Regions from separate parts of the Homo sapiens genome. Here all the other regions are linked to region 2. Evidence: promoter capture Hi-C in human tissues and cell types (Jung and others, 2019). All regions are on one chromosome and are shown on one strand. Each heading gives the region's core, a stretch centred on a gene start or on the middle of the fragment in contact. The rest is flanking DNA. Distances are from core to core; before and after follow the strand shown. Region 1 overlaps YARS1 (tyrosyl-tRNA synthetase 1). Region 2 holds the start of ZBTB8B (zinc finger and BTB domain containing 8B). Region 3 overlaps KPNA6 (karyopherin subunit alpha 6).

Region 1 (4,403 bases), core at 1,671-4,170, 320 kb before region 2:
AGGTCGCAGTGGGCCATGATTGTGCCACCACACTCCAGCCAGGGCAACAGAGCAAGCAAGATCCTATCAATCCCAACACTTTGGGAAGCTGAGGCAGGAGGATTGCTAGAGGCCAGGAGTTTGAGATTGTCCTGGGCAACACAGTGAGACCCCATTTTAACAAATAATTAGCCAGGCATGCCAGGTGCGGTGGCTCACGCCTGTAATCCCAGCACTTTGGGAGGCCAAGGCGGGTGAATCACCTAAGGTCGGGAGTTCGACACCAGCCTGACCAACATGGAGAAACCCCGTCTCTACTAAAAATACAAAATTAGCTGGGCTTGGTGGTGCATGCCTGTAATCCCAGCTACTTGGGAGGCTGAGGCAGGAGGAACCGCTTGAACCCAGGAGGCGGAGGTTGAGGTGAGTCGAGATCATGCCATTGTACTCCAGCCTGGGCAACAAAAGCAAAACTGTCTCAAAAAATAAATAAATAAATAAATAAATAAAAATTAGCCAGGCATGGTTTTGTACACCTGTAGTCCTAACTCCTCTTGAGGCTGAGGTCAGAAGATCACTTAATGGCAGGAGTTCGAGGTTACAGTGAACTATAATTGCACCACTGTACTCCATCCTGAGCAACAGAGCGAGACCATCTGAAAAGAAAAAAAATTGTAAGTAAGGACCAGGTAGCCACTCAGAAATACTTAAAAGATAGACATTTATTCTCCAACTACAAATTCATAACAATTTTGTGTGCTATAAACAAAGCCTGAGAAGAATATAAAAAATAAAATAGTTTAATTTGTTAGATGGCAGGATTGTGAGTGGTTTTTCACTGTCGCCCAGGCTGGAGTGTAGTGGCATGATCATGCCTCACTGCACTTTCAACCTCAGGCTCAAGTGATCCTCCTGCCTCAGCCTCCTGAGTAGCTGGGACCACAGGCGCGTACAACCACACCCAGCTAATTTTTTATTTTCAGTAGAGATGAGGTTTTTCTATGTTGCCCACACTGGTCTTGAACTCCTGGGCTCAAGCGACTCTCCAGCCTCCCAAAGTGATAAGACTACAGGTGTGAGCCACTGTGCCCAGCCAAATGTTAAAATATTTTTATTGCCCGGGTGCAGTGGCTCACACCTGTAATCCCAGCACTTTGAGAGGCCAAGGCGGGGCAGATCACGAGGTCAGGAGATCGAGACCATCCTGGCTACCACGGTGAAACCCTGTCTCTACTAAAAATACAAAAACAAAATTAGCTGGGCGTGGTGACAGGCACCTGTAATCCCAGCTATTCGGGAGGCTGAGGCGGGAGAATGGCGTGAACCCAGGAGGCGGAGCTTCCAGTGAGCTCAGATGGCGCCACTGCACTCCAGCCTGGGCAACAGAGTGAGACTCCGTCTCAAAAAAAAAAAAAAATCTTTATTTATTTATTTTTACCACATCCACAGGAAAATATCTGCAAGTACCTAATGTTAAAATCTTTGTAAAAAGAATTTTTTTAGCGAGGCACAGTGGCTCACACCTTTAATCCCAGCACTTTTTGGGAGGCCAAGGCAGGAGAGTTGCTTGAGCCCAGAAGTTTGAGACCAGCCTGGGCCACATGATGAAACCCTGTCTCTACAAAAAATAGAATTACCTGGGCATGGTGACACATTCCTGTAGTCCCAGCTTTCCAGGAGGCTGAGATGGGAGAATCTCTTGAGCCCAGGAGGCTGAGGCTGCAGTGAGCCATGATTGTGCCACTGCACTCCAGCCTGGGTGACAGAGAAGAAAAAACAAAATTTAACTTATATTAGTTGAGCATATTCTCATTTTCAACCACAAGAGGTCCTCTTCCGTTCTATGACTTCTAGGAGTCCAAGATTGATCTCCTTGATCGGAAGGAGGATGTGAAGAAAAAACTGAAGAAGGCCTTCTGTGAGCCAGGAAATGTGGAGAACAATGGGGTTCTGTCCTTCATCAAGCATGTCCTTTTTCCCCTTAAGTCCGGTAACACTCTCTGTTTTCTTCCTAGAGGCCAGGCTAGAATAGAAAAGTTCGTGCTGTGATCATACTTGTGATTTGTCACAGACTCTTCCTTCAGGGACTGGCTGCCCTGATTCTCTGCTCTGATTTCTTATATATTAAAGTATGAATGATGTTGGGATGTAATTTAATTGTCCATATATTCGTTACCAGGCTAGGTTCTGAGGGAATACTGGAGTGGGCAGAGGTGTTAGAAGTAAGGGTGGGGGCAGACATGTTGAACTAGAGGAATACAACAAAATAGATATAAGCCACAAGCCTTCCCCTGAAGCAGCTGAGATGCTAGCTGGGTATACAATAGTGCCACTCATCCAATTTAAGAATAATACCATACAATAAAGTTCAGAATATATGGCAAAAACTACAAATAGTCATGCATGTGGGCTAGGAATAGTCATGCATGTGAGCTAGGAATGCTGTCAATGAGTTTGTTGACATGGATCCTTTTCCTTATAGAGTTTGTGATCCTACGAGATGAGAAATGGGGTGGAAACAAAACCTACACAGCTTACGTGGACCTGGAAAAGGACTTTGCTGCTGAGGTAACATGAAAGGAAAAGGAATCCTTTCATGAAGATCTGTATTTTGTTATTTTTTGCTGACTGTTAGAACTTGTTTAGAACAACTTGTTCTGTGTAAAAGTGAGCTGCCTGCTATTTTTGCTCTACTTTTGGTAATCTCACTAGTGTCCATTTTCCTTCAAAATTGCAGTTTTGGTTAAAGTTTCTTGTCAGTTAGCTTTTCTGACTTAGGAATTTTGTTAATACAGATGGATTTCTATCCCTCGGGGCCCTTTCCTTACCTGGCAGGGACTCTGTCTCACCTCTTCTCAGGAAACATTTCTTATCAGTAAATGTCTGTAATCTTATACACACGAGTGGTCCCTTTAGGATGTACAAAAGCAGTACTCATTCAGTAGAAACCATACTTCTTCAAGTACCCATACAACCATTCTGTTTTTCACTTTCTGTATTCAATAAATTACATGAGATACTAAAAAAAAAAAAAAAAAAGAAAATGGGCTGGGTGCAGCAGCTCACACCTGTAATCCCAGCACTTTGGGAGGCCGAGGTGGGTGGATCACCTGAGGTCAGGAGTTCGAGACCAGCCTGACCAACACGGAGAAACCCCATCTCTATTAAAAATACAAAAAAGTAGCCAGGCATGGTGGCACGCACCTGTAATCCCAGCTACTCGGGAGGCTGAGGCAGGGGATTCGCTTGAACCTGGGAGTCGGAGGTTGCAGTGAACCGAGATCGCGCCATTGTACTCCAGCCTGGGCAACAAGAGTGAAACTCCGTCTCAAAAAGAAAAAAAGAAAGGAAAAGAAAAGAAAAAGAAAGATAATCCCCACTCAACTCTGCCAGACCTCTCCATCTTGGCCCGCTAGGTTTGTAGTTATATGCTACAGGGCTCTGTGTTTTTGTGGGGTTTTTTTTTTTTGAGACAGAGTCTCACTCTGTCGCCTAGGCTGGAGTGCAGTGGCACGATCTCGGCTCACTGCAACCTCCGCCTCCCAGGTTCAAGCGATTCTCCTGCCTCAGCCTCCTGAGTAGCCGGGATTACAGGTGCCCACCACCACACCCGGCTAATTTTCATATTTTTTAGTAGAGACGGGGTTTCACCATGTTGGCCAGGCTGGTCTTGAACTCCTGACCTCAGGTGATCCGCCTGCCTCGGCCTCCCAGAGTGCTGGGATTACAGGCGTGAGCCCCTGTGCCCGGCCAGGGCTCTGTTTATGCTCTCCAGGGCTGCATATTTTGTTAATGGCTTTGATGAGGATTCAGGTGGTTCCCAGATTCGATAGGCAAATGGTACAATGCTAATATACTGGTGCTTTAATCACTCTCCAAATGACTTAGCAGGCTGGAATAAAGGACCTAACTCAGCAAAAATGAAGTATTTCAGGAACAGATGCAAAATCAGGATTCAAAAACAAGAGATAATTATAAAAGGACAGAATAGAGGCTCCTATTCATTTCAACAGACACTTGAACAAAAGACTTACTAGGTGCCCATGTGTTAGGCACTATGCTAGGGACTGGTATTACACAGAGGGTTCAGTCCTCCTAATGCTCAGTCCAGTAGGCGAGGCAGACTTGTAAACATTTCATTGGCTGCATTTTACATATATATCTATATGTGTTTTTTAACATATGTGTGTATGTGTGTATATATGTGAATATATGTGTGAAAATATATATGTGAATATATATAATGAAAAGAATATATATATACCAGAAATAATATAGGAGGAAATGATTAACTGACTCTAGAAAAGCTTGTGGAGGAGACACTATCCAAGCACTATTTTGCTTGAGGAATAGGAGTTCACAAGGAAATCTGTGAGGGAATAAGTTGTACAAAGACATGGTAGGATGAAGCAGCATGATGTATG
Region 2 (4,329 bases), core at 1,394-3,893:
CAAGCCCTTTGAAAGCATGAGCCATGTCTTATTCAATTTTATATCCCTTACAGTATCTGGCAGAGTGCTTTGGACAAAATAGATTTGTTAAGCAAAAAAGGAATATTCATTTCTTAACTGCTTAGTAGATAAACTATAAACCAAGTTTAAAATCCACTTGGGGCCGGGTGTGGTGGCTCACACTTGTAATCCCAGCACTTTGGGAGGCCAAGGTGGGTAGATCACCTGGGGTCAGGAGTTCGAGACCAGCCTGGCCAACGTAGTGAAACCCCGTCTCTACTAAAAATACAAAAAAATTAGCTGGGCATGGTGGCGGGCACCTGTAATCCCAGCTACTCGGGAGGCTGAGGCAGGAGAATCACTTGAACCCAGGAGGCGGTGGAGGCGGAGGCTGCAGTGAGCAGAGATTGTGCCACTGCACTCCAGCCTGGGCGATAGTGCGAGACTCCATCTCAAAAAAAAAAAAAAAAACAAGTGTGTGGAGGGACTTTCGCCTTTCATTTTAAACCTTTCTGATAGAATGTTTTACTATGTGCATGTATTGCTTTTCTTTTCTTTTGAGACGGGGTCTTACTTTGTTACCCAGGCTGGAGTGCAGTCCATGATCACAGTTCACTGCCGCCTCGACCTCCCAGGCTCAAGCAATCCTCCTACCTCAGCCTCCCAAGTAGCTGTGACTACAGGCATGCAGCACCACACTCAGCTAATTCTGAAAACATTTTTTTGTAGAGATGGGGTCTCACTATGTTGCCCTGGCTGGTCTCAATGGTCTTGAACTCCTGGACTCAAGTGATCCTTCTGCCTTGGCTTTTTTCTTTGTTAACTAAGAAAAAAAGGAGGCAGGGCAGAGGGGTAAGGAGTTGGTAAGCCAGGTAGATAAATATGTAAGTACGCACAACACTTCTTAACTTGTAGTATGGTCTGATCTATAGGGGCTCTTCCCAGGGCACTTCCGTCTTTCACTGGAAAAGCCTCCTTTCCAGAAATAGCACCTAAAACCAATTTCTTTTGGCTTTCTTACTGAAATTATTTTTTATTCTATTGCAATTATTTTTATTCTACTTCCTGACGTTGCAAAAGTCTATCCGTATAGTATTTTCTTCAAAATTTTCCCCAATCCTGTACTTGGTATATATTGTGTAAATATTTATTTATATCACCCCCATTTGCCTGAAGTGCTCTGCTGCCCCGGGAAGTGCTGAGGATCACCACTTATCCCAGAAGAGCAGCTCTTAGGGCAGACTGCTCTCAGAAGCACATTTATCCGCACTCTGGCAGGGAACCTCCCAACCATCCCACGGTTCCAACTCAATTCAACGGTTACCGGCTACATACAATGCCTGACACAAGGAAGATGCCAGGAATAGAAAAATGAACCAAGTATAGTGCCTGTCCTCCAGGAGACAGCAGATGCCAACACAACTACCTGCAATACAAACTCTCATATACCCTTGAGGGAGTCCTAGCCAGATCACACAACTGTCTCTGTTCAGAGGCCAAAAGCAGCCTTGAATTCCACCTCCGACCCTTTCTGACAAGACTCCTCCAGTCCCACCAACCTGAGAATAACAAAAACCTGCTCCTCAATTTTAGTAAATATTAAGCACTATTCCTTATAAAACACTGTACAAAGTACAAGCATATTCATTTTACTTTTTAAATTAAAATTTTTAAAAGGCACGGTCTTGCTCGGTTGCCCAGGTTGGAGTGCACGATCCTACCTCAATGCAGCCTGGAACTCCTGGGCTCAAGAGATCCTCCCAACCTTAGCTTCCCGAGTAGCAGGGACTACAGGTGCGCGCCACCATGCCTGGCTTTTACAAGCACATTAGTTTTCACCTCACAATAATCCAGTACGACAGATACTCTAACTACATCCTCTTTTTCAGAGGAGGAACTGAGATTCAAAGATGCAGATAACATCACCAAGTTAGTAATAGAACAGAGATCCGACTGACTCCCGGGTTGACATCCTTAACCACTATGCTAACCGGCCTCCTCAAACCCTCCAGGACACGATGCGACAGGTTGGGGAAGTCACTCCTTTCTTTTAGGCATGGATCGGAGGAGAAGGACACTGGAGAAGTTTCCATTTCCATACGAAGAATTTCAGGGTCAACTGCATCTAAACTGCTCGCAAGACAGACCCTCCCCCGTCCAGCATCAGACGACCTGCAGAGAGGCCACCAGAACCAGCTACAGGGCACGGCCCCCGAGGGTGGGACCCCAAGGCCTAGCCCCTCCCATGGCCTCCCGCGGACAAAGTGGCCATCGCTGCCGCTGGCACTTCTCCAGTGTGGCCGAGCCCCCCACGCCTGGGCACCATTCACCGTGGAAGTAGTCGGCGCCGCGACCCCCGGCTGGACGACGCGGAGGACACCCAATGACAGGGAAGCTGGGGCCCCACGGCCGCGCCTGCCCCTCCCCACGCTAGAAGGGCTCGCGGGGCGGAGGTCCCAGGAGTTGCCAGGGCCAAGCGGTCCGAAGGAGGATGACTGAGTGGGGGCAACCCTGCCCGCTAACCCCAATCTCCAGCCAGCCTCCCGGGTGCTAGGAATCCTCCCCAAACCAACGAAAGCGGCAGCGCCAACCCGCTTCTTCGCGCTCACCTTCCAGCGGGTTCCAGCAGCGCAGCCACGGAGCACCGCGCACCGACACGCCCCCCTTTCATTCACCTGGCGCCCTCCGATGAGAGGCGGGGCGGCTGGCCAATCGCGGGAGCGCCTGGCCTCGGGAAGGCGGGCCCTTCGGCCAGCAGGGTGGTCAATGGCGCTGGTGCCCCTCGGAGGATGCGCTCTGAAGGCGCTGGTGCTCGCAGGGTGATGGGAGTTGTGGTCTCAGCGCTGGCTTTTCGGGTAAAGATAGAGTGGACAAAACTACAAGTACCAAGATGCCAAAAGGGGCGAGGACCAGTGCTAGCGAAAGGCTGCAGCTCGGTTCGGTCTTTTGAGTCCCACTTGAGGGACCTGCCAAGTACCGGTCTCTTTGTCTGGAGAGCGAAAAGCACGTCGTGGGTATTAATGCAGTCCAGGGAATAAGAGCTTTGACTCATCAGTCCGCACATATTTCACCTACTGGCGCTTTCCGCAAAAATCTGGAAATAAGGGAAATGGTTTAATCGATTCAACAGGTTTTTATTGCATACCCGCGGTTTCTTTCACTGGGTAGTCGTTACAAAAGATAAAAGATTCAGCTCTTCCCTTGACAGGCTCTCCGGTTCATACATACTAGTGAAACGGTTAAATGGCAGTACTAGGTGCTAAGTGACCGTACAGGCGTGTTCTTGTCAGCTGTGAGCAAGACAAGGCAGCTTACCGCTCTCAGGGAGCTTAGTTCTCATGGGGGTGTATTCGTTTGCTAGGGCTGCTGTACCTAAGTATCACCAACCCGGTGGCGTCAATAACAGATCTTATTGTCTGACAATCCTGGGGGCATCTGAAAGCAAGATGTTGGCAGGGTTCTTTCCTTCTGAGCGCTGTGAGGAAACGGTCTCTTCCAGGCTTCTCTCCTGGGCTTGCATATGGCCATCTTCATGTTCACAGGGCATATTCCCTGTATATGTCTCCATGTCAAAATGTCTCCTTTTGGTTGCAGTGAGTCGAGATCGCGCCACTGCACTCCAGCCTGGGGCGACAGAGAGAGACTCCGTCTCCAAAAAAAAAGTATTTTTATAAGGATACCAGTCATATTGGATTAGGGGTTCACTCTATGCCAGTATGACTTTTTTTTTTTTTTTTTTTTTTTTTTTGAGACGGAGTCTCAGACTCTGTTGCCCAGGCTGGAGTGGTGGCGGGTGGATCACCTGAGGTCAGGAGTCCGAGACCAGCCTGGCCAACATGGTGAAACCCCATCTCTACTAAAAATACAAAAATTAGCCGGGCGTGGGCCAGTAATCCCAGCTACTTGGGAGGCTGAGGCAGGAGAATGCTTGAACCAAAGAGATTGCAGTGAGTGGAGATCTGGCCACTGCACTCCAGCCTGGGCAGCAGAGCAAGACTCTGTCTCAAAAAAAAAAAAAAAAAAAAAAAAGGCTACCCCCTTCGCTGAGAGACCCTAATGAGGAGTAGTGAGCCATGCTAAGATAAAACAGAAAACCGGTTGGTACATATCTAAGAAACAGGAGAATGCCATTGGGTTGAGGAAGTGGATGGCAGGTAGACCAGCTTAATGGACGTGCAACCCACGCAGTGGCACAGGCCCGCACACTCAGAAAGGGCTGGTGCTTCCAGGTGAGGTTTTATACTTAACAAAACAAAACAAAAAAAGAGCCAGGTGCGGTGGCTTACACCTGTAATCCCAGCACTTTGGGAGGCTGAGGCGGGCGGATCA
Region 3 (4,909 bases), core at 2,246-4,745, 310 kb after region 2:
GAATTAATAAGACCTACTATTTGGTAACACAATAGGGTGACTATAGTCAATAATAACTACACAATTTAAAATAACTTAAAGTGTATAATTGGATTGTTTGTAACTTAAAGGATAAATGCTTGAGGAAATGGATACCCCATTCTCCATGATTTGCTTATTTCAAATTGCATGCCTGTGTCAAAACATCTCATGTATCCCATAAATATATATACCTACTATGTATCCCCCAAAAATTAAAAGACAAAACAAACCCCTTCCCTTCAGGCCTCACCTGTAATGTACAATTCTCATTCCTCTTCAGAAACTCCACGAACCGATCCACCACTCTTGGAGTGTTGATAACTTCATCTATTGGAGGACTAGGCTCTGGATAAGGGAGAAGGGAAAATAAAAACACAGGAGAAGCTTTTGCTGATCCCTTCATGGGGGTCAGCTTGCAATCCTTCTTAGACACTTCTGACCACCCTTACAAACATTCCCAAACTCCCTTCTGGTAAGGTGGTTTTAACAATATCTACTCGTCTTTGAACTGTATAATACAGCTGGAATGTTAAAGAGTAAAGCCAATCCTAATTTAAGAATGTTCATCTTTGGCTTACTAAATGTAAGCAAAGAAAGGTGTGGGAGAGAGAACCACCTAAGGGATGAACAACCATGGTCTGCACATTTCCCTTTCAAGAAAGACCAGTACTCTCTTCTTGGGAAGACTATTTGATATACTGAAACAAGAGGTATTTTTCCAATCATACATTAAATTTTTTTATTAAGTACCTATGGTGTGCCACACAGTTCTAGGTACAGAGGACACAGGAGGGAACAAAAACAAAAGTCTCTGCCCTCAGAGAGTTTATATCCTAGTGGGAAGAGTCATTTTATTATGTTAGAAGATAAATATAATGGGGGGAGAGGAGGAGAATATGTAGGGCAAGGTAAAAAGATAAAACTGTTGAAGGTGGGATTTAATCATAGGAGTAAGGGAGTTGCTACAAAGATATCTGGGAATAGAGGACATCAGGCAGAGGAAGTATCCAGTGTGAAGGTAGCAATGTGTCTATCTTGTACAAGCAACACCAAGGTCAGTAGGGCTAGAGCAGAATGAGTGAGGGCACGTGTAAGTTGATGACATCAGTGAAGAGAAAAGAGGCTAAATCATATAAGGCCTCTCTGACAAGGGCCAGGCTTTGTACCTTTGGAGAGCAGTTTCCGGAATTTCTGTGTGGTTGCTAACTGCAGGTCAGAATCATCAGAAAAGAGCATCTCCACCATCTCTCTTGTGATCACACTCTCCTAGAACATAAAACAAGTTTAGGACTTTGCAAACCAACATTAGAGCCAGATGTGAGCACATAATACTGCTTGGCATCCTGTTTTCTAAAAAACTGAGGGCAAGAGGATGGCATAATAGGCTCAGGAGAAGGGGTCTGTTTAATCTATAGGTGCTTCAAGTTGGGACATTTGAAAAGTGATTCCTAATTCTGAGGCAACTGATGGCTTCTCTTAAATGTTTCCTCAGATATATCTAACAAAGTTGAATCTTTGTTGACTCCTAAAGCTGACGAAAGGGTCCACAGAGGAAAGAACTTGTCATGGTTACTGGCAAAGCTGGTAGATGATGTGAACGGCCCAATTTCTGTCCTTAGAAGCAGGTGTTTTCCAGGTCAGCCTGAGGCACATGCAGGGGCCTTACCCCAGTGGTAGAGCTCACATAAGAGTCCATGAGAAGACTATCGAACATGGCAGCTTCTTCATTAATCAGCTCCACATTTCTCCGTTTAAAAAGCTGAAAGTAAAGAGACAGTGGTTAAGAGTACTCTCTGAACCAAAGAAAACAAAGAACAATCCAATGTTAAATTATGGCATAACTGACAAGGATATACTAGAGTAGCTGAGAAGTGAGGCCAAGCTTTATACATTAGTCTCCCCTTATTCAGTTTTGCTTTCTATTATTTTAGTTATCCAGTCAACCGTGGTCTGAAAATATTACACAGAAAATTCCAGAAATGAACAATTCATAAGTTTTAAATTGCATGCCATTCTGAGTAGTGTTGAAGTTTCACGCTATCTTGTTCTGTCTGGCCCAGGATGTGAACATCCTTTGTCCAGTGCATCCATTCCATGCTGTATACGCTGCTGCCAGTTAGTCACTTAATAACCAACTTGGTTATCAGGTGGCAATTGCTTGTGTTCAAGTAACCCTTATTTTACTTAGTAATAGCCACAAAGTGCAAGAGTAGTGATGCTGGCAATTCAAATGTGCCAAAGAGAAGCTGTAAAGTGCTTCCTTTAAGTAAAAAGATGAAAACATGAAAAAAAACATAGTATATGTAAGGTTCAGTAATATCTGCAGTTTCAGGCATCCACTGTGGGTCCTGGAATGTATTCCACAAAGAGAAGAGGAGACTATTGATTACTAACATGGAAAAGATATTCAAGGACTTGGAGGCAGAGGCAGCAGTGGGCCAAGATCACGCCACTGTACTCCAACCTGGGCAACAGGGCAAGATCCTGTCTTAAAAAAAAAAAAGAAAAAAAGGAATGATAGTATAGCAAAAGGGTGGGCAAAATCAGGTTAGGTTGGCCAGGCACAGTGGCGCATGCCTGCAATCCCAGCACTCTGGGAGGCCAGGGCAGGTGGATCACTTCAGCTCAGGAGTTCAAGACCAGCCTGGGCAACATGGCAAAACCCTGTCTGTACAAAAAAAAAAAAAAAAAAAAAATCCACAAAAATTAGCCGGGCGTGGTGGTACATGCCTATAGTCCAGCTATGCAGGAGGCTGAGGAAGAAGGATCACTTGAGCCCGGGAGCTTGAGGCTGCAGTGAGCTGAGATCATGTCACTCACTGCACTCACTGCACTCCAGCCTGGGTGACAGAGTGAGACCTTGTCTCAATAAATAAATAAATAAATAAATAAATAAATAAATAAATAATAATAATCAGGTGACTGAATCTGTTGGCGGGGTGGCGTAGGAGTGCAGATGGTGAGGCATTATTATAGTCTCAGGCTGGGCGTGGTGGCTTACGCCTGTAATCCCAGCACTATGGGAGGCTGAGGCGGGCAGATCTGGGCAGATCACAAGGTCAGGAGTTCGAGACCAGTCTGGCCAACATGGTGAAACCCAGTCTCTACCAAAAATATACAAAGTTAATTGGACGTGGTGGTACATGCCCGTAATCCTAGCTACTCGGGAGGCTAAGGCAGGAGAATTGCTTGAACCCAGGAGGCAGAGGTTGCAGTGAGCAGAGATCGTGCCATTGCACTCCAGCCTGGGTGACAGAATCAGACTCCGTCTCAAAAAAAAAAAAAGAAAAAAAAAAGAAAAGAAAAGGTAACAAGGAACTAGAACTAGAATGTTACAGTAAAGACATAAATGATGTCTAAGTTGGTCTAACTTGTGAAAAGGGGATAAGGTCAGTTTTCTCTTTCTCAAAGCTCCCAACATTTATTTACAACAAAGGAAACTGGATGAGTAGCTCACTCAGTAAGTAAGCTACTTTTCTTTTTTTTTTTTTTTTTTTTTTTGAGATGGAGTTTCACTCTTGTTGCCCAGGCTGGAGTGCAATGGCACGAACTCAGCTCCTGCAACCTCCGCCTCCCAGGTTCAAGCAATTCTCCTGCTTCAGCCTCCCAAGTAGCTGAGATTGCAGGCGCATGCCACCACGTCCGGCTAATTTCTGTATTTTTAGTAGAGAAAATGAAGTTTCACCATGTTGGCCAGGCTGGTCTTGAACTCCTGACCTCAGGTGATCTGCCTGCCTTGGCCTCCCAAAGTGCTGGGATTACAGACATGAGCCACCATGCCCACCTAGTAAGCTACTTTTCTACAGGGCAAGTCAGGGTGCATGGTGGAGGCCAACCATAGGGGCTTGTTTCCCAGAATAGTATGTTTGAGAATACTCCCATTAACTCACTTGTTGCTCTCGCTTCTGCTTCCGGAGCTGAATGCCCTCTTCCTCTCTTCTTCGTCTCATTTCTTCAGGGTTTAGAGCATTGTTCTTATAGCTCTTCATTCGATAATTGTCTTTCCCTGGGCTCGCCATGGTCTCTAGAAGAAAAGATACACACTGCCAAAAACTCTTGAGAGGACAGCATTTCCTTTTCACTAGACTTCTATCCCTACCCACCCTTCACCCTCCCCTACTCTGGGGGGAATACAGCTCTCTGGGAGCTCTCAATAGCACCTGACATCTCTACCCACCCCCCAGCCCCAGTATCTTTTAATTACAATAAGCTTGCTAAACAGGTGGTATTAAAGCAATTGGTATAAGCTTAGTAGTTAAAAGTGTGGGCCCTAGAGACAGATTGTCTGGGTTCACATCCTGACCCTTCTACTTGTTAGCTGTGCAACCTTGGACAAGCTCCTGTAACTTTTATTGCTTCAGAATTTAATCTTTAATAAAACAGGAACACATCAGGCACAGTGGCTCCCACCCGTAATCCCAGGGGTCTGCAGACCATACTTTGAGAAATGCTGTTTTTTTTTTTTGAGACAGGGTCTCACTCTGTCACCCAGGCTGGAGTGCAGTGGCACGGTATCGACTCACTGCAACCTCTGCCTCCTGGGCTCACGTGATTCTCCTGCCTCAGCCTTCCGAGTAGCTGGGATTACAGGCGCACACCACCACAACTGGTTAATTTTTATATTTTTAGTAGAGACGGGGTCTCACCATGTTGGCCAGGCTGGTCTCAAACTCCTGACCTCAGGTGATCCACCTGCCTTGGCCTCCCAAAGTGCTGGGACTATAGGCATGAGCAACCACGTCCAGCCAAGAACTGCTGTTCTAAGCAGTGAATTACTCAGTTGTAGGTAAATAAATGTTAACTTGACCAGCTAGTGCCAAAGTTGTCTTCCATAGTACTGCCACTGACAAATATCTTGACCAATACTTTTGACAATCTACTGGGTGTC

The links. Contacts are between HindIII fragments. The study calls those that stand out against the background at their distance.
Region 1: a contact is called between a fragment that was not itself captured here and the fragment with the promoter of ZBTB8B in region 2, in 1 of the 25 tissues and cell types used here (dorsolateral prefrontal cortex).
Region 3: a contact is called between a fragment that was not itself captured here and the fragment with the promoter of ZBTB8B in region 2, in 2 of the 25 tissues and cell types used here (adrenal gland and spleen).

What each region holds. Positions count from the first base shown.
Region 1 is chr1:32,784,506-32,788,908 of GRCh38, reverse strand. YARS1 (tyrosyl-tRNA synthetase 1) reads left to right here. Exons shown (of 13, transcript NM_003680.4): 7 at 1,834-1,969; 8 at 2,462-2,547. Among named protein-coding and RNA genes, the nearest start is that of YARS1, 31 kb to the left of the region's middle. RefSeq lists an enhancer at 1,382-2,581. The HindIII fragment of the contact is 7,257 bases long and covers 1-4,403 here.
Region 2 is chr1:32,463,386-32,467,714 of GRCh38, reverse strand. ZBTB8B (zinc finger and BTB domain containing 8B) reads right to left here and starts at 2,643. Exons shown (of 4, transcript NM_001145720.2): 1 at 2,610-2,643. The HindIII fragment of the contact is 24,686 bases long and covers 1-4,329 here.
Region 3 is chr1:32,153,724-32,158,632 of GRCh38, reverse strand. KPNA6 (karyopherin subunit alpha 6) reads right to left here. Exons shown (of 14, transcript NM_012316.5): 2 at 3,912-4,045; 3 at 1,688-1,780; 4 at 1,188-1,287; 5 at 272-366. Among named protein-coding and RNA genes, the nearest start is that of TXLNA, 23 kb to the left of the region's middle. The HindIII fragment of the contact is 4,682 bases long and covers 1,155-4,909 here.